Regions from separate parts of the Homo sapiens genome. Here region 2 is linked to region 1. Evidence: promoter capture Hi-C in 16 types of primary human blood cells and fetal thymus (Javierre and others, 2016). All regions are on one chromosome and are shown on one strand. The core of a region is centred on a gene start or on the middle of the fragment in contact, and the rest is flanking DNA. Distances in the headings are between cores, read along the strand shown.

The links. Contacts are between HindIII fragments. The CHiCAGO score rates a contact against its expected background, and 5 or more counts as called.
Region 2: a contact is called between the fragment with the promoter of COX7B here and the fragment with the promoter of MAGEE1 in region 1, in 2 of 17 cell types (fetal thymus and non-activated CD4 T cells). The highest score is 7.2, in fetal thymus.

What each region holds. Positions count from the first base shown.
Region 1 is chrX:76,423,908-76,430,492 of GRCh38, reverse strand. MAGEE1 (MAGE family member E1) reads right to left here and starts at 2,783. Exons shown (of 1, transcript NM_020932.3): 1 at 1-2,783. The coding sequence starts at 2,562. RefSeq lists enhancers at 1,926-2,055, 2,526-2,735. The HindIII fragment of the contact is 4,624 bases long and covers 37-4,660 here.
Region 2 is chrX:77,898,208-77,904,596 of GRCh38, reverse strand. It overlaps COX7B (cytochrome c oxidase subunit 7B), which reads right to left and starts at 5,129. Exons shown (of 3, transcript NM_001866.3): 1 at 5,004-5,129; 2 at 1,830-1,954. The coding sequence starts at 5,043. RefSeq lists an enhancer at 4,926-5,175. The HindIII fragment of the contact is 2,290 bases long and covers 3,125-5,414 here.

The DNA.
Region 1 (6,585 bases), core at 1,534-4,033:
CTCCCTGGCATGGTTGCCCATAATAAAGATGAAGCTTAGGACCTGCATCAAAAAGTTGTTGCCAGGCCTGTTTGGACTGTCTACGATCTCCTCAGTTTCTTCCATCTCCCTTCGGTTGTACAGAGTATAGGAGTGATTCCTGGGATCAAGTACCACTAGTTCTGTCCCATAGACATGGTTCAGGGTGCGGGCAGCACGATTCAGGAGGTCAGGGAACACTTTGCTGCACTCTCGGCCAATGTAGTACAGAATTCCTTTCTTTGGTATAGGCAGCTTAGTTGAATCCATAAGCAGAAATAACTGCACCAGCTTCCTTGCCTTGCTCTCCAATCTTGACTCAGGCCATGAATGTGGGGCATATTTTGAGGAATAGCTGGAAACCTCTGAATCAGGGGATGGTACCTCTGCAGCAGCTTCCTCAAAAAAGGGCCTCCTAAAGTGAGGGAGAGCCTGCCAACCCTCAGCAAAGGCTCTGGCAGCATCTTCTTCCAGAGCTTCGTTGTATTTCTCTGGCCAATCCATAGGATCTTTGTTATATATTTTCGCCATGAACTTCAGAATTTTCATCTTGGTGGTTTCTAGGTGGGATCTTGGGCCCCAGAAAAACTCATACTCCACTGGTTTACAGTCAGTTACTGGCCTGTAGTCTAAGTAACGCTGCCATACAAACTCCACAGACAGAAGTCTCTTTGGGTTCCCAAAAATGGAAAGCCTCCTTTCCCGCTGCACCCCCATCCTCCAGAGCATTTCCCAAATCTCAGCCTCCTTGGCTTGGTTGCCATTCAGGAATATTTGGCCTAGAATCATCATCAGGAGGCCCATCTTTGGCCCATTTGGGCTCTCTTCTAACCCTTCAAAGGGCACAGGTCCCAGTTTGTTTAACAGAATGTAGGTGTGTGCCTCAGGGTCAAGTTCTCTCAATTCAAACCTAAAAATGCACTCCAGGTGGGCTGCTGCTCGCCTGAGTATCTCAGGAAACTGGTTGCGATATTCTTTAACAATATATTCCCGCATTTCAGACTCCCGGATAGGGTACTTGCTCTGATCCTTCACCAGCAGGAACTGCAACAGCTCAGCTACGTTCTGTTCCATAGGGTCTTGGGGCTTCAGGGTAATTGCAACCCGGGAAGTATTGAGGCCCATAATACTAATGGAGTTGGGGCTCTCACAGTCTCTCAGGACCTCGAATTCTATAGGGCCTTCTGCACCCTTAGGACCCTCAGAATCTGAGTCCACGGAGGCCTTGGTTACCCTAGGGCTTGGCAAAACAAGGGAACACTTGGAGGGGTTCCGGTCCACAGAAGCACTAGAGCTAAACAATGTGCTCGGGCCCTCACCAGGGTTAGGCAGCACGGAGCTTCCCGGTCCGTCAGGGGCGGTGGGCTGCACTAAGGTGCTTGCGCCCTCACCAGGAGTGGGCGGCACGGAGGTGTCCGATCCATCAGAGGCGGTGGGCGGCACAGAGGTGCTCAGTCCCTCACCGGGGATTGGCAGTACGGAAGTGCTTGGTCCCTCACCGGGAGTGGGCGGCACGGAGGTGCTCAACTCCTCAGTGGCGGTGGGCGGCACGGAGGTGCTCAGTCCCCCACCAGGGGTGGGCGGCACGGAGGTGCTCGATCCCTCACCAGCAGTGGGCTGCACGGAGGTGCTCAGGCCCTCGGTGGCGGTGGGGGGCACGGAGGTGCTTGATCCCTTACCGCGGGTGGGCACCAAGGAGATGCTTTGTCCGTCAGAGGCGGCGGGCAGCACGGAGGTGCTCGGTCCCTCACCAGGAGTGGCCGGCACGGAGGTGCTCGGTCCCTCATCACGGGTGGGTGGCACGGGGGTGCTTAGGCCCTCAGTGGCGGTGGGCGGCACGGAGGTGCTCGGTCCCTCATCAGGAGTGGCCTGCACGGAGGTGCTCAGGCCCTCAGTGGCGGCGAGCGGCACGGAGGTGCCTGGTCCCTCACCAGGTGTAGGCAGCACGGAGGTGCTTGGTCCCTCATCAGGGGTGGGCACCACGGAGGTGCTTGGTCCCTCATAGGCTGTGGGCGGCACGGAGGTGCTCGTTCCCTCACCAGGGGTGGGCGGCAGGGAGGTGCTCGGTACCTCAGAGGCGGTGGGCGGCACGGAGGTGCTAGGTTCCTCAGAGGAAGTGGGCGGCCTGGAGGTGTTCCGGCCCTCAGAGGCGGCAAGCGTCACAGAGGTGCACAGCCCCTTAGAGATGGTGGGAGGCCCGGAGGTGCTTAGGCCCTCACTGGGGGTGGGCAGCACGGAGGTGCCAGGTCCCTCAGAGATGGTGGGCTGCCCGGAGGCGCTTGAGGCCTCAGAGATGGTGGGCGGCACAAAGGTGCTTGGGCCCTCAGCGGAGGTGGGCAGAACGGAGGTGCTTGGGCCCTCAGAGGCGCAGAGGCCCTGGAGGATCTGGGAATCGCTGGGACCCTGGGGGACGTCTGAGCCTGGCACATCAGCGGGGAGACCGGGGGCATTAGGGGCCTGCATTTCGCCCCAGCTGCTGTTGTGCGCAGTAGCCTTTGCAACGCGGCGGCGGCGGCGGCGCGAATTCTGGCTTACCAGAGACATGGTCCTGCCCACCGGCGTTGGCGTGTAGGAGCAGACACCGACAGGCCCGCGATCTGGCAGAGAGGACGGGAGGTGTGTAGGTGCCTCGGCACAAAACTGCCGCTAGCGGTAATGATGTTGCTGCTGCTGCCAGAACCAAAGTTCCAAGCAACTGCTGAAGCTGAAATTAGAGGTGGTGAAAAAGGCAGGCACTGGCCAGCAGTGAATGCTAGTCTCACTGTACTCTGCTTCTCACACCCCGCCCTCTGCCGCAGTCCGCGCAGGCGCAGACTGGCTCTGCGGCAAGGCGAAATCGCCCCGCCCCGCCCCTCCCCTGGGCCTGAGAAAGTGGATGCGGTGGTTCTGCACCAAAGGAGAGCACTAGCAGAAGGGAAACTTTGGTAGGGTGAAGCAAGGAGCTTAGAGTAGATGCATTAGGGAGTAAAAATGGAAATAATAATAAATACTTCTCAGATTTAGGGTACGATTGGAGGGCTTCTACACAGAGTGCCAGGCACTTAATAGATTCTCAAAATTGGTAAATATCATTGAGATTTGCAGTTTTCCCGAAGCTGTTTCAAAGAAAATGTGCATTGTCTCTGGAAGGGTAGAACCCCCATCCCTGACCATGTCTCTTCTATCACTTTCTCCATTTATGTGTCTAACTCCTCCCCTAATGTTGTGAGCTAGAAAGAACTCTTTCCTAGAGGGTCTGAATGCCTGAAATTTAGTACCAATTAGGGAGCTTCGAACACGCTTGAAAAGCCCAACATTCCCAGCCCAAACTTTCCCAGTCACCCAGGCTTTAGTGGGAAAGCCACTAAAACTCTTGAAAATTTGTTTAATTCTTTCACTCCACAATCACCTGCTCATTTAATAGAGCTTTTGTGAAAGTCAGTTGAGATACCGAGTGTTAAGGGATGTGTTACCTGCTCTGTTTTGCTCTATTACTCTAGCACTTTTGAGCAGATCCAACCCTGATCCCTTTATTCATTCACTCAACAAACACTGGTCATCTATCCCGAAGTTACAGTTAATCTCTTTGTCATCAAGGAGCACCCGATGTAAAAATGGGAGTCAGAGAAAAAGTAAAGCTAAATTTTCTAGAAGTTTGTAAAGAATGCAGGGGATGGCAGGGTCAGTTCTACCTGTAGATGCAGAAAAGGCTTCATAAAAGAGGAGATGTTTAAAAAGATGAGTGGGTAGATATTTACCAAAAGGACAAGGATGAGAAAATCATTCCAACTGAGAGTAGCACGGCAGCAGTGAGTAAGAAAGAAAACACTGAAGAGGACGGGCAGGCTGTTTTTAGAAGTAGGGGAGAGAGAGAGAGGAAGAGAGATAGAGGGAAAACACTAACTTTCTGACACTCACACAACCACTACAATTCAGCTTACCACTATTGACCCTTTATTGATATGTTTATATCTTGCTGCAAACATTTATTATATGTTGTCTTTCTTTATATCTTCTCAAAAATCTGGGAGTATACTTTTGTCTTTTTTTCTTTTTTTTTATACTTTAAGTTTTGGGGTACATGTGCAGAATGTGCAGATTTGTTACCTAGGTATACACGTGCCATGGTGGTTTGCTGCACCCATCAACCCATCATCTACATTAGGTATTTCTCCTAATGCTATCCCTCCCCTATCTCCCCACCTCTTGACAGGCCCTGGTGTGTGATGTTCCCCTCCCTGTGTCCATGTGTTGTAATTGTTCAATTCCCACTTATGAGTGAGAACGTGTGGTGTTTGGTTTCCTGTTCTTGTGTTAATTTTCTGAGAATGATGGTTTCCAGCTTCATCCATGCCCCTGCAAAGGACATGAACTCATCCTTTTTTATTGCATAGTATTCCATGGTGTATATGTGCCATGTTTTCTTTATCCAGTCTGTCATTGATGGGCATTTGGGTTGGTTCCAATACTTTTTTTTAATACGTCTTTAGGAAAGGGAAAATAACTGGCTACAGTCACAATGTGTCACCATCTCTGTCTCCAATTGGAGAAGCAATCCCTTATATGAATAACCAGTTTCGGTTCTGTGAAGTCCAATGCAGTTTTTATGCCTGGGGCCTATTCAGAATGGGAGGCACAAAAAAACCTAAGATATTTCTAAGCTTTAGCAACAGATATTCCTAACCTAGGGTACAGTGATTTTTAAAGACCCTGAAGTTGTTCAAACCTATAAACTAAAAATTTTTACCTCTAGAAATATATTCTAAAGAAATAATAAGATATATGTGCAAATATTTAGCTAAAATAACTTTTATTATATAATTTGTTCTAGTATAACAGAGCTGAAAACTAAATGAATGTTAAATAACTAAAGAGTATTTGAAGAAATTATGGTACTAAAAATGGAATACCAGTAAGTCATTATAATGATATCAAAGAATTCCATTTCTAATAATGTATAGTTGATTGCAGCAGCCCTGCGGAAAAAAAACCCCAGAAATTTAGGTAAAGAAACCCTTTTATGGCAACAAAGGCTACCAATATAGCATCAGAAACCTATAAAGGCAATGAGGACTTCAAGAGTAATGATCTCAGAAAAAAGGGAAGTGCAAAGAGGTGAGTCTTACATTGTATACAAGTTTGTCACTTAAGGAATTTAATGATTTGTAAGCTGATAATTTGGAATTCTGAACTTACTGAAATAGTACATCAAAAATGAAGGCAAAATAAATACATGTTCAGAAATCAGTGCTGAGTAAATTGATCACCAGTACACCCACACTGAGGAAATACTGAAAGGTTCTCCTCTGAAACTGAAGAGATGCAAGAAGCGAACAGTAATAGAAAGGATAAATATGTGGGTAAACAGACATATTGACAATGTAAAACAATAATAATAATATGTTTTGTGTAATTTATATGTAGAATTAAAATATAGGAAACAAGTGAGTGCAAGAGATTTGGGGACTGATCAAGAAAAATATATACTACCACACGTTTTCAGTAACACACAATGAGTTTTTGTTGTTTGTCTGTTTTAGAATTTCAACTTTTATTTTAGATTCTGGGGATACATACACAGGTTTGTTATATGGGTATATTGCATGATGCTGAGGTTTGGAAAACAGATGATCTCATCACCCAGGTAGTGAGCATAATACTCAACAGTTTTTCAACCCATGACCCCCTTTCTTCTTCCCCCTTCTAATAGTCCTCCAGTGTCTGTTTTTGCCACCTTTATGTTGATGAGTACCCAATCTTTAGCTCCAACTTATAAATGAGAACATATGGTATTTGGTTTTCTGTTTCTGTGTAAATTCGCTTAGGATAATGGCCTTCAGCTGCATCCATGTTGCTGCAAAGGACATTATTTCATTAGTTTTTATGGCTGTGTTGTATTCCATGGTATATATGTACCACATTTTCTTTAGCAAATATCAGTGATAGACACCTAAGTTGACTCCATGTCATTGCTCTTGTTAATAAGGCTGCAAACAACTATGAGTGTATGTGTCTTTTTGGTTGAATGATTTCTTTTCTTCTGGATATATGCCCGATAATGTGATTACTGAATTGAATGGTAGTTGTGTTTTATGTTCTTTGAGAAATCTCCAAACTGCTTTCTATAGTGGTTGAACTATATATAGTGTTTATTATTACTAATTTACATTCCCACCAACAGTGTATAAGCATACGAGTTTCATTTGGTCAACCCTTTGACAGGTTTGCAAGGGCATGGGGTTAATCAAAGTCTGAGATCTTCCAGAGGCTGGTGGGAGGTCACAACCTAGAAAATGAGAGGACAAGCTAACTGGAGAGAGGGAGGGGAATCAAAGAGATGGCTTATACATGTAGCGATGTCTCTCAGCAGCAAGACAGGGAGTTGCTGGGTCAGAGATCTCTGAAGGGCAGCAGTAGGTTAGGGTTTTTATCTCCTGGAGTTTATCCTATCTATAGCTAACAGATGATTGTAGTTTCACAGGGACATGCAAAGAAGGCAGCCTCTAAATGGCTAACAATCTACTTATTGGTCTATATTTAAAACAATTGATGTGTAAAAAATTGAGTTTGGTACTGGCAGAATCAATA
Region 2 (6,389 bases), core at 3,880-6,379, 1.5 Mb before region 1:
TCTCAACTCACTGCAACCTCCACCCCCTCCAACTTCAGGCGATTCTCCTGCCTCAGCCTCCCAAGTAGCTGGGACTACAGGTGCCCACCACCACGCCCGGCTAATTTTTGTATTTTTAGTAGAGATGGGGTTTCACCATGCTAGTACCAAACTCCTGACCTCAGGTGATCCACCCGCCAGGGCCTCCCAAAGTGCTAGGACTACAGGCGTGAGCCACCATGCCCAGCCTAGGCACACATCTTAATATTTGATTTCAGGAAGATCAAAACAAAAACTAAAAAGGCCTATTTATTTAAATAAAGTTTATTACATTAAGGATTAATTTGTATCTTTTTAAACCAACTTATGCATTTATTAAGACTTCGGGCCGGGCGCAGTGGCTCACGCTTGTAATCCCAGCACTTTGGGAGGCCGAGGTGGGTGGATCACGAGGTCAGGAGATCGAGACCATCCTGGCTAACACGGTGAAACCCCATCTCTACTAAAAATACAAAAAATTAGCCGGGCATGGTGGTGGGCACCTGTAGTCCCAGCTACTCGGAAGGCTGAGGCAGGAGGATGGCGTGAACCCGGGAGGCGGAGTTTGCAGTGAGCAGAGATCGCGCCACTGCACTCCAGCCTGGGCGACAGAGCAAGATTCCATCTCAAAAAAAAAAAAAACAAAAAACAAAACAAAAAAAAAAAACACAGACTTCAGGACTCCTACTTTTAGCCAGTAAGTAACAGTGACTGAAAGATAGATTGTTAAATGTAAGATGTAAAGAAACTAAAATATAAAAAGATACATTACATCTCATCTGTCACGAATACTGTGCTAAGTTCTGAGTGTAAAATTTTAAAAGAAAAATTGTTAAGTGAAGTTATGTCCAGGAAGGCGATCCAAGACAGTAAAAATCCTGGAAACCATGAACAAAAAAATTACTGATAGAACTAAGGATGTTTAATTTGAAAAAGAAAATTGAGGAGATATGATAGCAATTTTCTATTATCTGATGGCTGTTATATGGAAGTGGGTCAGAATTTCTGTGCTTCAATGAACAATGGGTAGCATAGGAAAAAGGCAGATTTTAACTCACCATATGATCCTTTTAACAGCTACACAAGGCTGGGCACAGTGGCTCACACCTGTAATCCTAGCACTTTGGGAAACCAAGGCGGGCGGATCACCTGAGGTCAGGAGTTCAAGACCAGCCTAACTAACATGGTGAAACCCCGTCTCTACTAAAAATACAAAAATCTGCCAGGCGTACTGGAGGGCGCCTGTAATCCCGCTACCTGGGAGGCTGAGACAGGAGAATCACTTGAACCCAGGAGGCAGAGGTTGCAGTGAGCCGAGATCGCGCCACTGCACTCCAGCCTGGGCAACAGAGCAAGACTCCGTCTCAAAAAAAAAAAAAAAAAAAAATAGCCAGGCCTGGTGGCACACACCTGTGGTCCCAGCTACTTGGGAGCCTGAGGCAGAAGAAGTGCTTGAACCCAGGAGGCAGAGGTTGCAGTGAGCCAAGATCGCACCACTGCACTCCAGCCTGGGGGACACAGCAAGACTTCTTCTTAAAAAAAAAAAAAAACAAAAACAAAAAAAACAGCTACACAAGATGGAAAGGGCTGCCTTGTGATCCAGTAAGCAATTTATTACTGGGAATGTTAAGAACAGAAGATGGATGAATGCTGGGGGGAAAAAATCCCCTGCACTGTGTGGGTAATTAGATTACACAATCTCTCAAGTCCCTCCTAACTAGATATGTACACTACTATGTTAAGACACTTTGAATGCATAGACTGAGAATGAAAAACATCTGAAACAGAAATTATTAATCAATAGTACTTACATATGTCCATGTAACAATACAGAAAGTGGCTCCACTAGCTAATACAGCATTACCGTATTTGTCATGAAAATCAGGTGTACGTTTCTGGTGGCTCTGCCTTGCCATTGTTTGCTGAATGCTTCGAACTTACAGGAAAACGAAAAAAGAATACAGAAGCATATTATCAATTGTCAGGTAAAGAAAACATATGTGATTGATACTGCCAATCAGGAAAGCCAAGGAAGTTAATTTTACAGTATTATGTAGTTCAATAAAATGTTAAAACATATTGTAGCTATTAAAGCAGTGTACTTTGAAATGCAACAAAAATAAGATGAATTGACAGATGGACAAATACATGATAAAACAAATAGCAAAATGTTAACTGTAGAATCTTTGTGGTGGGTATATGGGTGTTCATACGATTCTTCCAACTCTTCAGTATGTCTGAGAGTTTTCATAATAGTGTTGGGGGAAAAAAGCAAAGAATGAATGATGTCAGTAACATTCTCTACAAAGTGGTATTTGCATAACCCCTGAAATTTTGGCTCCCATTGATTAATTTGAATACTTATGACTTAAATTTTCATTAAAGTTTACTCAATAGAGCCCAACAACTTACAACATACAAGGGCAAATGAACTCAAATGAACTTCAAATTAAAGCACACTAAATGCTTATGACTGTAAAATTACTACAGTAACAAAAAAACTCGCCACAACTAGAGTAATCTTGATTTTTAAAAAATTAATGGGCCAGGCACAGTGGCTCACATCTGTAATCCCAATACTTTCGGAGGCCAAGGTAGGAGGATCGCTTGAGGCCAGGAGTTTCAGACCAGTCTGTGAAACATAGTGAGACCCTGTCTCTACAAAAAAATTGAAAATTAAAAATTAGCCGGGCATGGTGGTGCATGCACACCTGTAGTCCCAGCTACTCAGGAGGCTGTGGCCGGACGATCACTTGAGTCCAGGAGTTAGAGGATGCAGTGAGCTATGATCACACCACTACACTCCAGCCTGGGTAACAGAGCAATTCTCTGTCCCTAAAAATAAAAAATGAGAAATGGGGTATATAAAAAAGTATAAGACAGAGATCCTGTCCTCAAGTAACTTCCAGTCTAGAGGATTACACATGTAGATAAAAATCAGTATCGTACAAGGAAGCAGAATTAGCTAAGGACTTAGTTTTTGAGCAGAATGATAAAGTTTGCTGTTAGTATTATACCAGTAGAAAGAGAAGAACAAAAGTTTTCAAACGGCCCCTGGAAGAACTAAAAAGGAGGGCTTGGGAAACAGCCGAGACTGGAAAAAGCTTGTTTCTAGCTGTTTTTTTTTTTCTTCCTGTCCAATTTAAGGGGCAGGTTCTTATCGTTTTAAAGAGCCTCCAAAGGTACTTACATATATAATGAAAAGCTAGGGAGCCTGAGGCAGGAGAATCACTTGAACCTAGGAGACGGAGATTGCAGTGAACCAAGATTGAGCCACTGCACTCCAGCCTGGGCAACAAGAGCGAAACTTTGTCTCAAAAAAAAAAAAAAGAAACTGCAATGTTGCCCATTCACTAGCAATGAATATTTCTACATGGTACAATGGGTTACTTCATGATAGTTATTAGACCATTATCAGATCTTCTAACTGTCTTACATAGCTTTCCCTTTTCATCTTTTAGTCACACCGGGATAGGCAAATTTACAAATATTTCATAATATATTCTGCTCCAGAAAAGATAAAAAGTGGGCATGTGAATTCCACGCTGAAAAAAAAACAAAAAACCTTTCCTGAGGTACAAGGTGGCCCTATTTGCTCAAAGAGCAAAGAAATTAAGACTACCAAAAAATTCTGCAACATCTCATAACTTCAACACACTCATGTAACTCTGGTGGATTTCATCAGACCTCTCCTCTGTGACAACTGTTTAATTACCACACATTGGTGATCTCATATAATCCTCAACAACCCCATGAAGTAGGCATTATTTACAAATTACTTATTTTACAAAGAAGGAAACTGAGGTTGAGAGAGGCTAAATCATATGCCCAAAGTAAAAGAGATAATAAATGCTACTTTGGGAATATGAAAATAGTCCAGCTAATATTTTGTGGTTATTTTCAAAGTTGCTTAAGAGTTTAGGACACAATCTAATAATATCCTCCAATGATTCTATTAAGTGAAAATCAAAAGATGGCTAAACAAACTAAATAGTAATTACGGGTCACCTTCATTGTGTAACAACTGCCCACGTTACTCAAGGTCACCTTCGGTGCAAATCAAGTATGAAAATTAATTTGTTCTCCTCAATCTATTGCATTTTCTCTACATAATGCTGGTCTCAAAACTCCCTGTACCTGCCCAACCTTTGGATAAGAAAAAAATGACCACGATTGCCTTCAGGACAGCTAACATTGTTTTGTTTTTGTTTTCGAGACGGAGTCCCGCTCTTGTTGCCCAGGCTGGAGTGCAGTAGCAGTCTTGGCTCACTGCAACCTCCGCCTCCCGGGTACAAGCGATTCTCTTGCCTCAGCCTCCCAAGTAGCTGGGATTACAGGCGCCCACCACCACGCCCGGCTAATTTTTGTATTTTTAGTAGGGACGGCGTTTCACTATGTTGGCCAGGCTGGTCTCGAACTCCTGACCTCAGGGGATCCGCCCGCCTTGGCCTCCCAAAGTGCTGGGATTACAAGTGTGAGCCACCGCGCCTGGCCAGCTAACATTGTTAATCCACAAATAACTTCAAAGCTGCATCGATACCATTTGGGTTGTTTCCCTGCAATTAAACCAGGTGAAGAGCTAGATTTACAGTTTCCGTCTATTACAGTAATAGGAATTGGAGAAGATATTTTTCTATACAGGGTTAGGAGTAAACATATCCCCAAAGCTAAAATGTAGGACATCACTTAAGGAACGAGGTGTCTACCAAGAATGTCCTTCCCTGAAATCAAAGGTTACTGAAGAATTAAAAAGCAGGGCTAGACTATCACTCCGATAACAGAAAGAGAGCTGGAAACCGAAACAGAAATACTGGGTGATAAAGCCAATGCTAAGGACATCATCCCAATGACTTGGGACGAGATGGGAGACAGACAGCATTCAAGATTAGAAGGCCGAGATGTTCGTAAAAGGAAAGCACACGAGAGGCCGCGAGGACACATTGATATAAGGTTGTTGTAAATGATTTGTCATAATTTTTGCTCACCTTGGAGACGATTTAGTGCGCTTTTGACCAAGGGAAACATCGTGAAGGTGAAGCTAGAACTGCGGCAATACAGCTGCTGCTTTGGTGCCAATTCGCTTCAGGTACCCTTGAAGTGAGCTGAAAAACAAAATGGCTTTCAGCCGGGATCCGTAATGAGATTTGACGAAATCTCGCGATACCTGTAAAACCTATAGTAATTGCAATCCCTTTTCCCGCGAGGAAAAATAAAGGCCTTTTGGGAAATGTAGTTTCCGGCTTTATAAAATGACGTATGGTGGGTGGTATCTAATGAAGAATGAAAGAACTCCTTGAAGCCAGGTTTAGAGCTCTATAGAGGGCAGCCGAGAGACAGATCTTCGACCGAATCGTCTAAGGAACTAGCTTCAAAATGGCGTTCAAGTTCCACAAGCTTCGGTTTAGTATCTCCACACTAGCTCTTTCTTCTTTCTGTTCCCCCAAAACTTCCTTTACTTCTCTCATTTTTTTTGTCTGCTATTACTACTATACTAATTGGCTTAGCTTTTAGTTTTCAAATAACGTCAAGTTTAGAGAAAAGTTGCAAGAACAGTAAAAACTTCTGTAATATGTAGATAAATACGTGATAAAATAACTTTGGAAAGCTATTGGCCGGGCGCGGTGGCTCACGCCTGTAATCCCAGCACTTTGAGAGGCCAAGGTGGGCGGATCACGAGGTCGGAGTTCGAGACCAGCCTGGCCAAGATGGTGAAACCCCGTCTCTACTAAAAATACAAAAATTAGCCGGCGTGGTGGCGCGCGCCTGTCATCCCAGCTACTCAGGAGGCTGAGGCAGAATAATCACTTGAACCCGGGAGGCGGAGGTTGCAGTGAGCCGAGAACGTGCCACTGGACTCCAGCCTGGGCGACAGAGCGAGACTACGTCTCAAAAAGAAAGAAAGAAAAGAAAGCTGTTAGGCCTGGCGCGGTGGCTCACGCCTGTAATCCCAGCACTTTGGGAGGCCGAGGTGGGCGGATCACGAGGTCAGGAGATCGAGACCATCCTGGCCAACATGGTGAAACCCCATCTCTACTAAAAATACCAACAATTAGCTGGGCGTGGTGGCATGTGCCTGTAATCCCAGCTACTCTGTAGACTGAGGCGGCAGAATCGCTTGAACCAGGGAGTCGGAGGTTGCAGTGAGCCAAGATACCACCACTGCACTCCAGCCTGGTGACAGAGCAAGACTCCGTCTCAAAAAAAAAAAAGAAAAGAAAAGAAAAGAAAAAAAAGAAAGAAAAGAAATGGCAACACGGCAAAACCCCGTCTCTACTAATATACAAAAAATTAGCTGGGCATGGTGGCACATGCTTCTAATCCCAGCTACTCGGGAGGCTGAGGCATGAGACTTGCTTGAACCGGGGAGGCGG